Regions from separate parts of the Homo sapiens genome. Here regions 1 and 3 are each linked to region 2. Evidence: promoter capture Hi-C in 16 types of primary human blood cells and fetal thymus (Javierre and others, 2016). All regions are on one chromosome and are shown on one strand. Each heading gives the region's core, a stretch centred on a gene start or on the middle of the fragment in contact. The rest is flanking DNA. Distances are from core to core; before and after follow the strand shown. Region 1 overlaps ZIK1 (zinc finger protein interacting with K protein 1). Region 2 holds the start of ZNF470 (zinc finger protein 470). Region 3 holds the start of ZNF551 (zinc finger protein 551).

Evidence for each region. The method cuts DNA at HindIII sites, captures the fragments that hold promoters and counts their contacts. A CHiCAGO score of 5 or more calls a contact.
Region 1: a fragment that was not itself captured here is called in contact with the fragment with the promoter of ZNF470 in region 2 in 1 of 17 cell types (monocytes); the score reaches 6.1 in monocytes.
Region 3: the fragment with the promoter of ZNF551 here is called in contact with the fragment with the promoter of ZNF470 in region 2 in 1 of 17 cell types (total CD4 T cells); the score reaches 5.3 in total CD4 T cells.

What each region holds. Positions count from the first base shown.
Region 1 is chr19:57,589,823-57,594,090 of GRCh38, forward strand. ZIK1 (zinc finger protein interacting with K protein 1) reads left to right here. Exons shown (of 4, transcript NM_001010879.4): 4 at 189-4,068. The coding sequence ends at 1,453. Among named protein-coding and RNA genes, the nearest start is that of ZIK1, 7.8 kb to the left of the region's middle. The HindIII fragment of the contact is 1,657 bases long and covers 699-2,355 here.
Region 2 is chr19:56,564,663-56,568,717 of GRCh38, forward strand. It overlaps ZNF470 (zinc finger protein 470), which reads left to right and starts at 2,806. Exons shown (of 6, transcript NM_001001668.4): 1 at 2,806-3,376. It overlaps ZNF470-DT (ZNF470 divergent transcript), which reads right to left and starts at 3,359. Exons shown (of 2, transcript XM_047439806.1): 1 at 2,411-3,359. The coding sequence starts at 3,359. The coding sequence ends at 2,421. RefSeq lists enhancers at 2,486-2,535, 2,546-2,755, 3,136-3,245. The HindIII fragment of the contact is 7,993 bases long and covers 1-4,055 here.
Region 3 is chr19:57,680,649-57,684,947 of GRCh38, forward strand. ZNF551 (zinc finger protein 551) reads left to right here and starts at 1,329. Exons shown (of 3, transcript NM_138347.5): 1 at 1,329-1,596. The coding sequence starts at 1,516. RefSeq lists an enhancer at 1,021-1,644 and a silencer at 1,700-1,769. The HindIII fragment of the contact is 7,295 bases long and covers 1-4,299 here.

The sequences.
Region 1 (4,268 bases), core at 277-2,776, 1.0 Mb after region 2:
GGTGAGGCCTCCCTCATTCTGTGATCTTTAGAGATCCAGTATTGCAAAGCAACCCCTTCCTCAACTTGCCCCCAGCTCCATTATCCTCAAAACAAACCTGGTGAATCATTCGTTTGGTATGTGTGTAATGGGGCTTCTTGCTCTCAGCATAGTCAATGTATATTTCATCAGCGGTTCTCTGCTTTCAGGTTGTGGCCATGGAACAGAGGATGAAGAGACACCTTCTGACCAGAATGTTTCTGTAGGAGTGTCACAGTCAAAGGCAGGTTCATCCACACAGAAGACTCAATCCTGTGAGATGTGTGTCCCAGTCCTGAAAGATATTTTGCATCTAGCTGATCTCCCTGGGCAGAAACCATACTTGGTTGGAGAATGTACAAACCATCACCAGCACCAGAAGCATCACAGTGCAAAGAAATCCTTGAAGAGGGACATGGACAGAGCCTCATATGTGAAGTGCTGCCTATTCTGTATGTCATTGAAGCCCTTTCGCAAATGGGAGGTTGGAAAGGACCTTCCAGCCATGTTGCGGCTTCTGAGGTCCCTGGTCTTTCCTGGAGGCAAGAAACCCGGCACAATTACTGAATGTGGGGAGGACATTCGCAGTCAAAAAAGTCATTACAAGTCAGGTGAATGTGGGAAGGCTTCCAGGCACAAACACACTCCTGTTTACCATCCAAGAGTCTACACTGGAAAAAAGCTTTATGAGTGTAGCAAATGTGGGAAAGCCTTCCGTGGCAAGTACTCACTTGTTCAGCACCAGAGAGTCCATACTGGAGAAAGGCCTTGGGAGTGCAATGAATGTGGAAAATTCTTTAGCCAAACCTCCCACCTGAATGATCATCGGAGAATCCACACCGGAGAAAGGCCTTATGAGTGCAGCGAATGTGGAAAATTATTTAGACAAAACTCCAGCCTTGTTGACCACCAGAAAATACACACTGGAGCAAGGCCTTATGAGTGTAGCCAGTGTGGGAAATCCTTTAGCCAAAAAGCCACCCTTGTTAAACACCAAAGAGTTCACACTGGAGAAAGGCCTTATAAGTGTGGTGAATGTGGGAATTCCTTTAGTCAAAGTGCCATTCTTAATCAACACCGAAGAATTCACACTGGAGCAAAGCCTTATGAGTGTGGCCAGTGTGGGAAATCCTTTAGTCAAAAAGCTACCCTCATTAAACACCAGAGAGTTCACACTGGAGAAAGGCCTTATAAGTGTGGTGACTGTGGGAAATCCTTTAGTCAAAGCTCCATCCTTATTCAACACCGGAGAATTCATACTGGAGCAAGGCCTTATGAGTGTGGCCAGTGTGGAAAGTCCTTTAGCCAAAAGTCTGGTCTCATTCAACACCAAGTGGTTCACACTGGAGAAAGGCCTTATGAGTGCAACAAATGTGGGAATTCCTTTAGCCAATGCTCCAGCCTCATACATCACCAAAAATGTCATAACACATAGAGGCCTCATGAATGCAGCAAATGTGGAAGCGCCTTCAACTCAAGATCTATCATCATTTAGCTCCTGAAAGTCCACACTTAAGTAGAGCCTTAGACCTACAGGGAAAGTGCTGTCTCTGTAGTATTGTAGCAGTAGAGAGCCTTTGTGAGGGAGCCATCTGCCTGAAGTTGAACCTCATTCTTCCTTGTTTCTCTGGTAGAAACCATCTACCCTCTACCACCTTGCACAGTGGGCACTGGTCACTCCTATGTGCTAAGACAAGGCAGACATCTGTGTGTTCTCTTAAGTCTTTGGAGGAAATCTTGAGCAGTCTAAGCCTTTAGAGAAAATTCATTCTTTTTTCTGACTGATCACAGCATACGTGTGACCCAGTTTGGGTCAGGAGGGCCCAGCCTTGGTTCTGCTGGACACTTATGTGCAAGGATTCCCTTCATGTAAATTCTTGGTCTCACATGACACTTGGTCATTCTTCCAGCCTCCATGTCACCACGTGGTGAATGGCTGCCTCACATTGCTCCAGTTTGTGCACTAATAAAAGCCTTATATTTGAATCTACCTGTAGTCTTGGGGTTCTGTTTACTGTGTGGGGTGGCTGGGAGACAGACTTCAACTCTATATGAAGGAATGGATGGCTTTTGTGGGCCTCTGCAGGAAAGTAAGATGACAGAGTAATTCTAATTCTGGTTTTGGTCATACTTGCTTTGCTACCTAAAATCTCCTAGGAAAAAATGCAAGGTTTTGGTTATTCTAATTTGTGGCCTGGATCCCTATTCTTTCTGTGAGACTAGAGGTCATCCTGAGGAGAGGCCAGCTGTTATGACAAGCATGTGTGCTTCAGGGAATAGGACAATTTTATTCCATTGTTTCCAGAGGATGTCATATGATGCCCAGTGCTGCTGAGAAGCTTTTCATGGGGTTCTATAAGGAGGCATGCCCTGATATCAAACATTCCATAGGCCGATGTCACGCAGAAGACAACGCGAGTCACATGTGAACTGTAATTGGTACAGAAATACCTGGGTATTTCTGTACTGTGTGTACTGTAGCAAACTAGTTGGAATGTGCCTCTTATAAAAGTACATTTACAAATCTTCCCGTGACTGTGGCTTTGAGCAGTCATAGGACCTAGAAATCTGTGTATGTCCAATAGCTGAGGTTATTTTCAGCAAAAATAATTAAAGGGTTTTATTTTTTAATTCTTGTTGGTTTTCTAGGTTGTTCACCTCAAGTGCATTGCTGTAGAGGCAGAAAAAGGAGGATAAAGATAACAGAAGTCCTATAGGCCAGGGATGTATTGATAGCTCTTGTGATTTCCACCAGTGTTGCTGTTGTCTCAAATTGCCACAGCCTTCATTGCTTGCCAACATTTCCTGCATGGAGGGACTCATGGTTGCCCTTCCCCAGGCCTGAAGAGAGAGTGCAGTCAACATGAGATTGCTAGGCATTCTGGTTTCTGAAAGTTGGGTGATCAGATACTTTATTGTGAAACATGTTTTACAAACTTTCTTGATGTGTAAGTGACATGCCATAGTTTACATCCATTTATGGTGTATAATTTGAAGAGTTTGTCATACAAGCCTGTGAAACCATAATCATGATCATGAACATATTCATGATTCACCTCTTGCTGTTTTACAATCTCTGCGTGTACTTTCCAGGCCTTCAGGAGTCCTGTCATTTACTTTCCCTACAGGAGAATAGTTTGTGTTTTCTAGGATTTTATGTGAATTGAAACGTAAAATACTTACTCCATTTTTCCTGATGATGCACAATTTTTTTTTTTTTTTTGAGATGGAGTCTCAGTCTGTCACCAGGCTGGAGTGCAGTGGCATGATCTTGGCTCACTCCAACCTCCTCCTGGGTTCCAGCGATTCTCCTGCCTCAGCCTCCTGAGAAGCTAGGACTACAGGCATGCACTACCACGCCCAACTAATTTTTGTATTTTTAGTAGAGATGTGGTTTTACCATGTTTGCCAGGATGGTCTTGATCTCTTGACCTCGTGATCCGCCCGCCTCAGCCTCCCGAAGTGCTGGGATTACAGGCGTAAGCCACCACACCAGCTGATGCACAATTACTTTTAAGATTTATCAATATTGCTTATGTGAATAGTTCATTTGTATTGCTGAGAAATAGTCTGTGGATATGTCACAATTTGGATAAACAGTTGGATGCTTTCCAGTTTTGGGCTGTTGCAAATAATGCTACTATGAACATAGGCATATAACTCTTAATATGCAGAAATGCTTTATTTCTCCTGTGTCAGTAGTACAGTGTACGTGAATGCGTCACTTTTAAAGACAAGGCCAGACTATAACCTAACTGTACCATTTGCATTCTCATCAACAGTATGTGAACCTTCTTATTTCTCTACATTCTTGCCATACTTGGTATGGTTAGTCTTTTTAATTTTAGTTGTTTTAATAGCTGTATAATAGCATCTGTCTGTGATTTTATTGCATTTTTCTGGTATTTTATGGTATTGAACATTTGAACATCTTGTATCTAGTTGCCACCTGTATATCCTCTTTGGAAGAATGTTTATTAATGTCTTTTGCTTATTTTTAAATGGATGTTGGTGATACTTTTTCATTAATAAATAGACGTATAACAAAGACTTATGTTGAAACTTTACTCATTCTTCAGTAATGTGATGCACTTATTTGCTAAATGATAAAATTGTTTTCAAATACTGGGAAAATAATTTCTCAGTTTTTTGGTCTATTCACAGTGTAACAACTACAGACACTATATACCTGAAACACTACCTTCATTGACAAATTCTCCATCACTTTCTTAGGTCTAACCATTCAATGA
Region 2 (4,055 bases), core at 1,556-4,055:
AGGGAGTGCAGTGGCAGGATAATGGCTTGCTCAAGCAATCCTCCCACCTCAGCTTCTCGAGTAGTTGGGACTACAATTACACAGCACCACACCCGGCTAATTTTTGTATTTTTTTAAAGATGGGGTCTCACTATGTTGCCCAGGCTGGTCTCAATCTCCTGGGCTCAAGCAATCCTCCCACTTTGGCCCCCCAAAGTGCTGGTATGTATCACAGGCATGAGCCACCACACTGGCCTGGTGTCCTGTCATTAATTTTAGAAAATTCTCAGTCATTATTCAAATATTTTCTCTCCTTTCTCTCTTCCCCTCCTGGTATTCCAGTTACGCATATATTTCACCTTCTGTAATTGTCCCATGGTTCTTGGATATTCTGTTCTTTTTCTTTTTTCATTCTTTTTTTTTCCTCTTTGTATTTCAGTTTGGGAAATTTCTATTAACATATCTTCAAGCTCACCCATTCATTTCTCAGAGTGTCTTAGTCTGAGGGGCTCACTAAAGGTAATCTTCATGTCTGTTACAATGGTTTTCAATTGCTAGGATTTCCTTTTGATTCCTTCTTACAGTTTGCATCTCTCTGCTTACATTACCCATCTGTTCTTGCATGTTGTCTACTTTTTCCAAGATGCTTCTCCTTCTGTGGGCTTCCCTAAGAACTCCTTCTTAAATAGAGTCTGTGCCTTGCAGTTTTCTCTGTTGTAATCTACTGTTATTGACCAGAGCCCCATTAGTGTGGCAGTGAGGTACAGTGGGGAGGGAAGCATTCTATAATCTTATTATTAAATACTATTTTTCTAGTGGGCTTGAGGCCTTGGACTGTGATCTTCAGAAGCACTTCTTAGCCTTTCAAAAATCCTGCCTTACTGAGACAGACAGGCTATAGAGGGACTGGAGCTGGCCAATTGCCTCTCCCCAAGGTCCAACAAGACTCTAGTAAGTAGTTTTTCTTGGAGTGCAGGTGTTTATTATGGAAAATGTGGTGCTTACTTTTCTCCTCCCCTTGCCCAAAAACCTGAGATTTTTCCCCATTCTTCACTGAGAGAATTTGATAGGGTTTCTGGAGGTAAAATTCACGAAAGTGTGGGGGCCCATCTAAGATTGGGCCCCTAGGAGTTTTTAACTCACAAGTTAGCCCACACTAAGCCTCCAGCAATTCATCAAAATTATAAAAAATAAAAGTTTTTACCAGTTTATAACTCCAGTGGCTTCTGCTTCAAGTAAGCTAATCTTGGCTGTAATTTTATGTATTTTTCTTTCTCGGGATTTTGGGGTGTCAGTTACCTTTCTATCTTCAGTTCTCTGATGGATCTAAGAAAAGTTGATTTTCAGTTTGTTGAATGATTTTGTTGTTGTGAAGATGGGAATGAAGGCTTCCGAGCTCTTTATATGCCAGAGCTAAAATGAGAATATTATCATTTTCATCCAACTCAAATAACCACAAACGTTACAAGCTCTAAGATGATATTTGCTGTTTCATAGTTAAAGTATCTTCACAGCTAGACTTGGCTTTATTATGTTGTTTATGATGTCTGACATAAATTGGATCCAGGAGAGTCCAGTCTAGATGTCACTGTGTGGCCTTGGGTGATTGAGTGTGACTGGGAGGGTGAGTTAGTTTCTGGTGAGCCAGTATCTATGATGCTGTATCTTGGTCAGCTGGGGCTGCTATAACAAAATATCATAGACTAAGTGACTTGACTAAGAGACTTTATTTTTCACAATTCTGGAGGCTGGGAAGTTAAAGTGCTGGCACATTCAGTTCTTGGTGAGGGCCCCGTTGGCTTGCAAATGGGTTACATCCTGCTGTGTCCTCACATGGCCTTTGCTTGGTGGTTGTGTAAACATGGAGACCCCTCCTTCCTCTTTTTTAATAAGTGCACTGACCCCATCATAAGGGTATCACCCTTATGACCTAATCTAAAACCAGTTACCTCCCCAAAGTCCCACCTCCTAACGTCATCACACTAGGGGTTAGGGTTTCACCATAGTAATTTTGGGAGGACATATTCAGCCTATAACATGTTGTGTCATGGTGAGACTGGCAATGCTAGATTTCGTGATTTCCTAAAAAATAAAATAAAAATAAAAAACTAAGCACCTACTATGTGCTGTTTTAGTCACTGAGAATATAACCCTGAACAGGACGGAAGCTGTGTGCCTTCTTGGAACCCTCCTTCCAGCAGGGAGAGATAAAATGGGGTGGGGGGAGGTGAGGGGCGTACCGTATATCAGAGAGCAGTAACTAGTAGGCATGAAATAAAACAGGTTCCACACGCGCACCATCAGAAAGTCACAAGTGTGCAAAGCAGACAAATCCCAATCTCCTCACTTTTCTATCGCGTAGGCCCCGCCCGCGCCCCAAGCCCCGCCCTGTCATGGTTTTCCTCTCCAGAGGGTAGCCGCTACGCCTTACCGACTGCGTTTCAGTGCTGTCCCACTGCTCCTGCACACCCCACGCCTGCGACCCTACCCACCACGGACAGGCGCTCCTGCGAGCTGGAAGCCAGTTCTCTGCGTCCTGAGCCTGGCAGCTGCATCTGAACACTCGGAGCCTGGCGATGGCTTCCAGAAACCCCTGCGCCGTGGGTCGCTTCAGTGAAGGGGCCTGTACTTCGGCGACCCAGACTCCGGGCTGAGAGGCCTCCTAATCCAACCAGGAGGACCAGGAGAGGCCCAAAAGGGGACACAGGGCAGTGACCGCCAGGCTTGGAGAGGAGCCGCTCCTGGCAAAGCCAGCGCCCTATTTCTGAACGCCGCCTCCGTTCCGGACTACACTTCCCAGGGGCTATTGCAGCGGAGGACACGCCCACTTCCGGAAAGGACCCAAAGCCGGGCGAGTGCACGTCCCGCCGGTTGCTGAGGAGAAGGGAGGTCTGGGCGGGGCAGCGGCCGAGGCTGGACTGGGGCGCGGCGGGGGCGGTGTCCTGGTTCCTGTGTGGGCGGCGGGCGTGAGCGTGCGCGTGTGGCCTGGTGGCTGTGAGTGCCCATACGTGGTGAGCGTGCGGTGCTGTGCTGAGGAGGGGCGAGCGCGCGCGGGGATGGCGGCCCGGTGTGTGACTGTCCGGTGCGTGGCCGCGAATCTGCGCCTGCGTGCATGGCCCGGCGGCGTGCGGAAGGCGGTGTGTGTTGGAATGAGTGAAGCACTTTAAGTGGCCAAGAGCAGGAAACCCGGCCGGAGGAGGCTTACCCCGTTCTCCCCTGTATCGACTGCGTAGAGCCCAGTGTGGGCAAAGTCCTAGAGCCCGGGGAAGTTGCCCGGGCGGGGCAGCCTCGGCTGAAGCATTTCCTGTCAGCCCTATCTGGAAGGGGCAGAGCCCAGGACAGGGCTCCATGTCCACAGGACGGCGAGGAGCGAAGACCATGGGGACTGAGTACACAGGTAAGAGTGACAGATGACGGATGTGGCTGCCGGAGTGGACATTGAGGTTTTGGGTGCTGTCTTTCGGGGTTCAGGTGCTGGAGGAGGATGTCCCCCGTTTCTAAGGCTAGTGGACCTGGAAGTCGAAAGATTTGGAGGGTCACCTTGGGTCAGAGTGGAGCTGGGTTTAGTTAGGGAGGGACCTTGACTTGGCCAGAGACACCTAACCAGATAACCTGACTCAGGTCCTTGGTATATCACTAAGGGCCCATGGGAGAGAACACTACCCGTAATATTACCCATTATAGCATTACTTCTGGGTACTCTGCTGCTGTTGAAGGAATAGCTCAGCATTTAGATTTTTACCCGTCAGAGCCTTGTCCCATCTATCACTGTAGGATTTGGGAAGAAGGCGAGATTCACAGCTTCACCCAGAAATGCCGAGGCATTCCAGCCTTTCTATGGCTTAATCACGTTCTAGTCAATAACGGAAGATATCCCCATTCCTTGGGCTTCTCTCCCTCCCCTCTGGCCTCCCACTCCAATAAAGAGAAAGGGGGAGGAAGGGCTATTTTTAGCCATATTGTTCTGTGCTTGTTTAGTTTCCTGCATGCTATAGTAATAGCTAATGTTTAATGAGTGTTTATTATGTGCCAGACACAGTTCTAAGACCTTTTGGGAGTATCAGCACCAAACTTCA
Region 3 (4,299 bases), core at 79-2,578, 1.1 Mb after region 2:
TAAAACTCATATGCCCTTCCATACACTAACAATGAAAAATCTGAAAAGGAAATTAAGAAAACAATATCATTTGCAATAGTAATGTATATGGTCAAATGATCTCAACAAGGCTACCAAGACCACTCAATGGGGAAACGATGATCTTTTCAGCAAATGATGCTGGGAAAATGAAATATTCACATGCTAAGGAATGAAGGTGAACCCTTACCTAACACCAAAAACACAAATGAACTCAAAATGGACTAAAAACCTAAACATAAGACCCAAAACTATAAAACACTTAAAAGAAAATATAGGGTGAAAGTTTTATGACATTGAATTTGGCCATAATTTCTTGGATTTGACACCAAATACACATGTGACAAAAGAAAAATAGACCAATTAGACTTCATGAAAATTAAAACTTTAGTATATCAAACAATAACAAAGTGAAAGAGGAACCTATTTAATGAGAACAAAATACAGGTTGAATATCCCTGAGCCAAAAATCTAAAATCCAAAATGCTCCAAAATCCAAATTTTTTTTTTCTTTTTTTTTTTTTGGAGACGGAGTCTCCCCCTGTCGCCCAGGCTGGAGTGCAATGGCGTGATCTCGACTCACTGCAACCTCTGCCTCCCAGGTTCAAACGATTCTCCTGCCTCAGCCTCCCAAGTACTGGGATTACAGGCGCTCGCCACCATGCCCGGCTAATTTTTGTATTTTTAGTAGAGACAGGGTTTCACCATGTTGGCCAGGCTGGTCTCGAACTCCTGATCGCGTGATCCACCCACCTTGGCCTCCCAAAGTGCTGGGATTACAGGCGTGAACCACTGCGCCCGGCCCGCCCGACTAATTTTTGTATTTTTAGTAGAGATGGGGTTCCGCCATGTTGGCCAGCCTGGTCTCGAACTTCTGACCTCAGGTGATCCGCCCGCCTCGGCCTTCTAAAGTGCTGGGATTACAGGCGTGAGCCACCGCGCCCAACCCCCTGAAATAATATTTGTTTGCCTCTAGGGGCACCCTGAGCTTCGTGGAGTCTGAAATAATGTCTCTAAACACTTAAGTGATCAGTTACGGAAAACACTTCCCAGAAATCTGGGAAAAGCCCCTTTAAGAAGGAGTAAATACCTCCTTCTCCCCTAGAGGCCGAAGTCGCCATTTCCCTGCACGGGGCACAGCACCTCAGAATACAAGTTCGCAGAGGTCAAAGCAGTGGACACACTCCGAAGAGCTCCGTGGAGTTTTGGAAACTACATTATCCAGAGTGCAGAGCGCAAAACGGCGGCGGAGTTGAGCCAATGACAGCCCAGGATAGCAACACTTCCGCGCACGCGCAGCGCGACGGGCCGGAACTTCCGGCGTCCTCCTCGTGGCGGTCATTTTGGCCTCTGTCCTGTTTGTCCAGCCCGCCAGTTTCTGCAGTGGAGGTCGCGACTGAGGGACGGGACAGAGAAGTCGCGAAAGTGGGCCAGAGGTTCTGCGACACCACCTCGGGTGAGCTGCGCCAGGCCCGGGATAGGGACTGTTGTGTTCGAATGCCCGCCCCGGTCGGCCGCCGCTCCCCGCCTAGTCCACGGAGCTCAATGGCGGCAGTCGCGCTGAGGGACTCGGCTCAGGTGAGTTGTGCGTCCTCCGGGTCTCGCCTACCTCCCCCAGCAGAAGCCTTAAGGCCCAGTGAGGGATGCCTGCTCACAGCCCTGCAGCCCAGGCCCCAGTACCCTGGACAAGAAGGCGCTTGTGGATTGGACCCGTTTGTGACGCCCAGTGTGTACGGAAATGTGACGGGCAGTTGACTGGCGCGTGCAGAACTTGGAGCTGCGACTAAGCTGGGGGGGATTCAGGAGCCTGGGGTCCGTCTCGGGTCTGCAGGAACATAGAGTGAGGCAGAGTTGCACCTGACGAATTTGACGATTCTGAGGACACTGGCAGCCTTCGAGATTTGTGAACAGATAGGGACACTGGGCTAGGATTTCCTAAAGCTATCCAAAAGTTGCTCAGGGGAAGAACAGGCTGAAGAGAGGTAATAGTAGTTAGGCATAGGAAGACTGAGTTCTTGTCCAAGCTCACGCAGCTGGTAAAGTCAGCACTGAGAACTGAGGTGCGGAGATAGTGCAGCCAGCCCAGGCCACCTGGCTCCAAAACTGGACCAGGGTCATTGGGCGACCTGAGCCTCGCCACTCGTCTAGCCTTGGGCCCTGAGACTTTGAGCAAATACAAAGCCCAGAGTCTTAAGTCCAGGTTAGATTATATGAAGCTGTTGGCAGCCGGGGGAAAGGAGATGTAGAAGGTTGTCCAAGGCAAAGTTACCAGTATATGCTAAGTTTGGAGAGGAGGCTAAGATAGTTCAGGAACCTACAATTATTTTCTTTTCATGAGAACAGGGAGCAGTGTAGTAGAAGTCAGACCCGGAATGGTTCCCTGAGAAGTTGAGTTGTCTATTCGTTACTTAATAGTAACAGTGGGAGGTTTGGAGTGGAAGAGGGAGGTGATCTGGTTCTGGTCTTATTAGGCTCCCTGTGGCTGCAGCATGGGAAGCCAACTGAAGGATGAGGTGGGGAGACCTGGGAGGAGACTACTGGGATAGGCCAGGTGAATGTGATAGAATGTGATAGGCCAAAATGGTGGCTGTGAAGATGCGAGAAGCAGTTGGATTCTGGATTCATTTTTTAAGTAGGGCTGCCTGAATTTTTAGTTTTGAGAAAGAGAGTGGAGTCAGGGATGACTGAAAGGTTTTATTTTGGCAGTTAGAAGTGTGGAAGCTCCATCAACTAAGATGGGGAAGTACATAGTAGGAGTAGTTTTCATTTGGGATATCAGAAGTTTTATTTTTGACCTGCTAAGAGTATGAGAGCTTTCAGAGAATGGTTCATGGGCTGCTGGAACTGTAGGTCAGGAACAGTGAGGAGAGATTCAGAATGGAGACTTTTCCAAAAGGTAGTGGACAATCTGTGGGCCGGGGTGGAGCTGTGGATCACATTTAGTAGAGGGGAAGCCTGCTCACAATGATAATAATAGTTGTCAAGGAAGGGGAGGGGAAGGTCAAGGACAGGTCTCCTGTGTGAGCCCCTGGTTGTGTGAGGTGTTGCAACACAGGTCTTGGACAGAAGTGTTCACGGTGAGGGTCGTACAGAGATTATGATCTAGCATGTGGCCAAGGCTTCTCAGGGGTGAGTAGACATGAGATGAATGTAGAGGCATAGGAGTTAGACAGGATGATGCTAGGACTGGTGCGTATTCACCTCTCTGCAGACTGACCAGGGTTTTATATTAACTCTTGGTGGGATCTGGGAAGTTTCAGTCAGGCTGTCACGTTATCTTAGGGGCATAATTGGCCATCTGTGGGACTCGATGGGCCCGGGGTAGAGAGCCACTGGGGTTGGACCTTGAATTAGTGGTAGTTGGAGAGAGGAAGGCTGTGACTGGTTGGGGGACAGCAATCACAGCCCAGAAGTGGAAGAGGCCTTGGTTATCTGAGATCCACAGGTGATTCTTGATGGGTGAGGTTGAAGCAAGGAATAGTCAGGTAGAAAGGCCTTCATGGTATGACTTGAGGCTGCCCCTAACTTTAGGTGCAGTTAGAGATCTGGGATAGTACTGAACCGTATTTGAATTTGCCAGCCACTCTCTGGGCCCCATATGCTGAGTAACCAGTTGGGAGGCCAAGGAGATGCTCATGGTATGAGGCAGGAAGTAAGCTGTGGCTGTGGGAGTGACACTGTGAGAGAAGTGTGGTAGAGTATTGTGCACATGGAGACAAGAATGTGAAGTGGTGGCTCCTTGGTGTTGAGGACACAAGGGTGAAGTATGAACCAAGACCCTTGGTTGTGTTTGGGAGCCATGGTCTGTTGTCTTCCAGGAGAGTTTCCTTACAAGAGAGTATGGTTCCTTGCATGGCAGGCTCAGAGCTTAGATACTTGCCCACCTGCCTGTTGTTGCTGTGGGAGAACACAATGACCAATGGGACCATAAGGAGAGAGGGGGCATTAGTGTCACCAGGCCCTGTTGCATTCTTTCAAATGAGAAGATGGAGAGGAGGATGAACAGGGGATAGATGCAGCAGGGATGAATTTGGGGTCCTAGGAGAGATACTCATAATGGAATGAACTGTCCCAATCATGGAAAAGCTGTGTGACCTTTGAGGTTGTGGCTGTGGGAATGCAGCTGTGTGAGACAGGTGTGGTTCAAAGAGTGATGTACATGAGAAGAGAGAGAATAAACTGAGGGCCATATGGGTGAACGGGAGTCAGAGGGGTAAAGGGTAAGCCCGTGTTAGTTGTGTCTTGGAAGATCAATCTTGGGGACTTCACGGGTATTGCCTG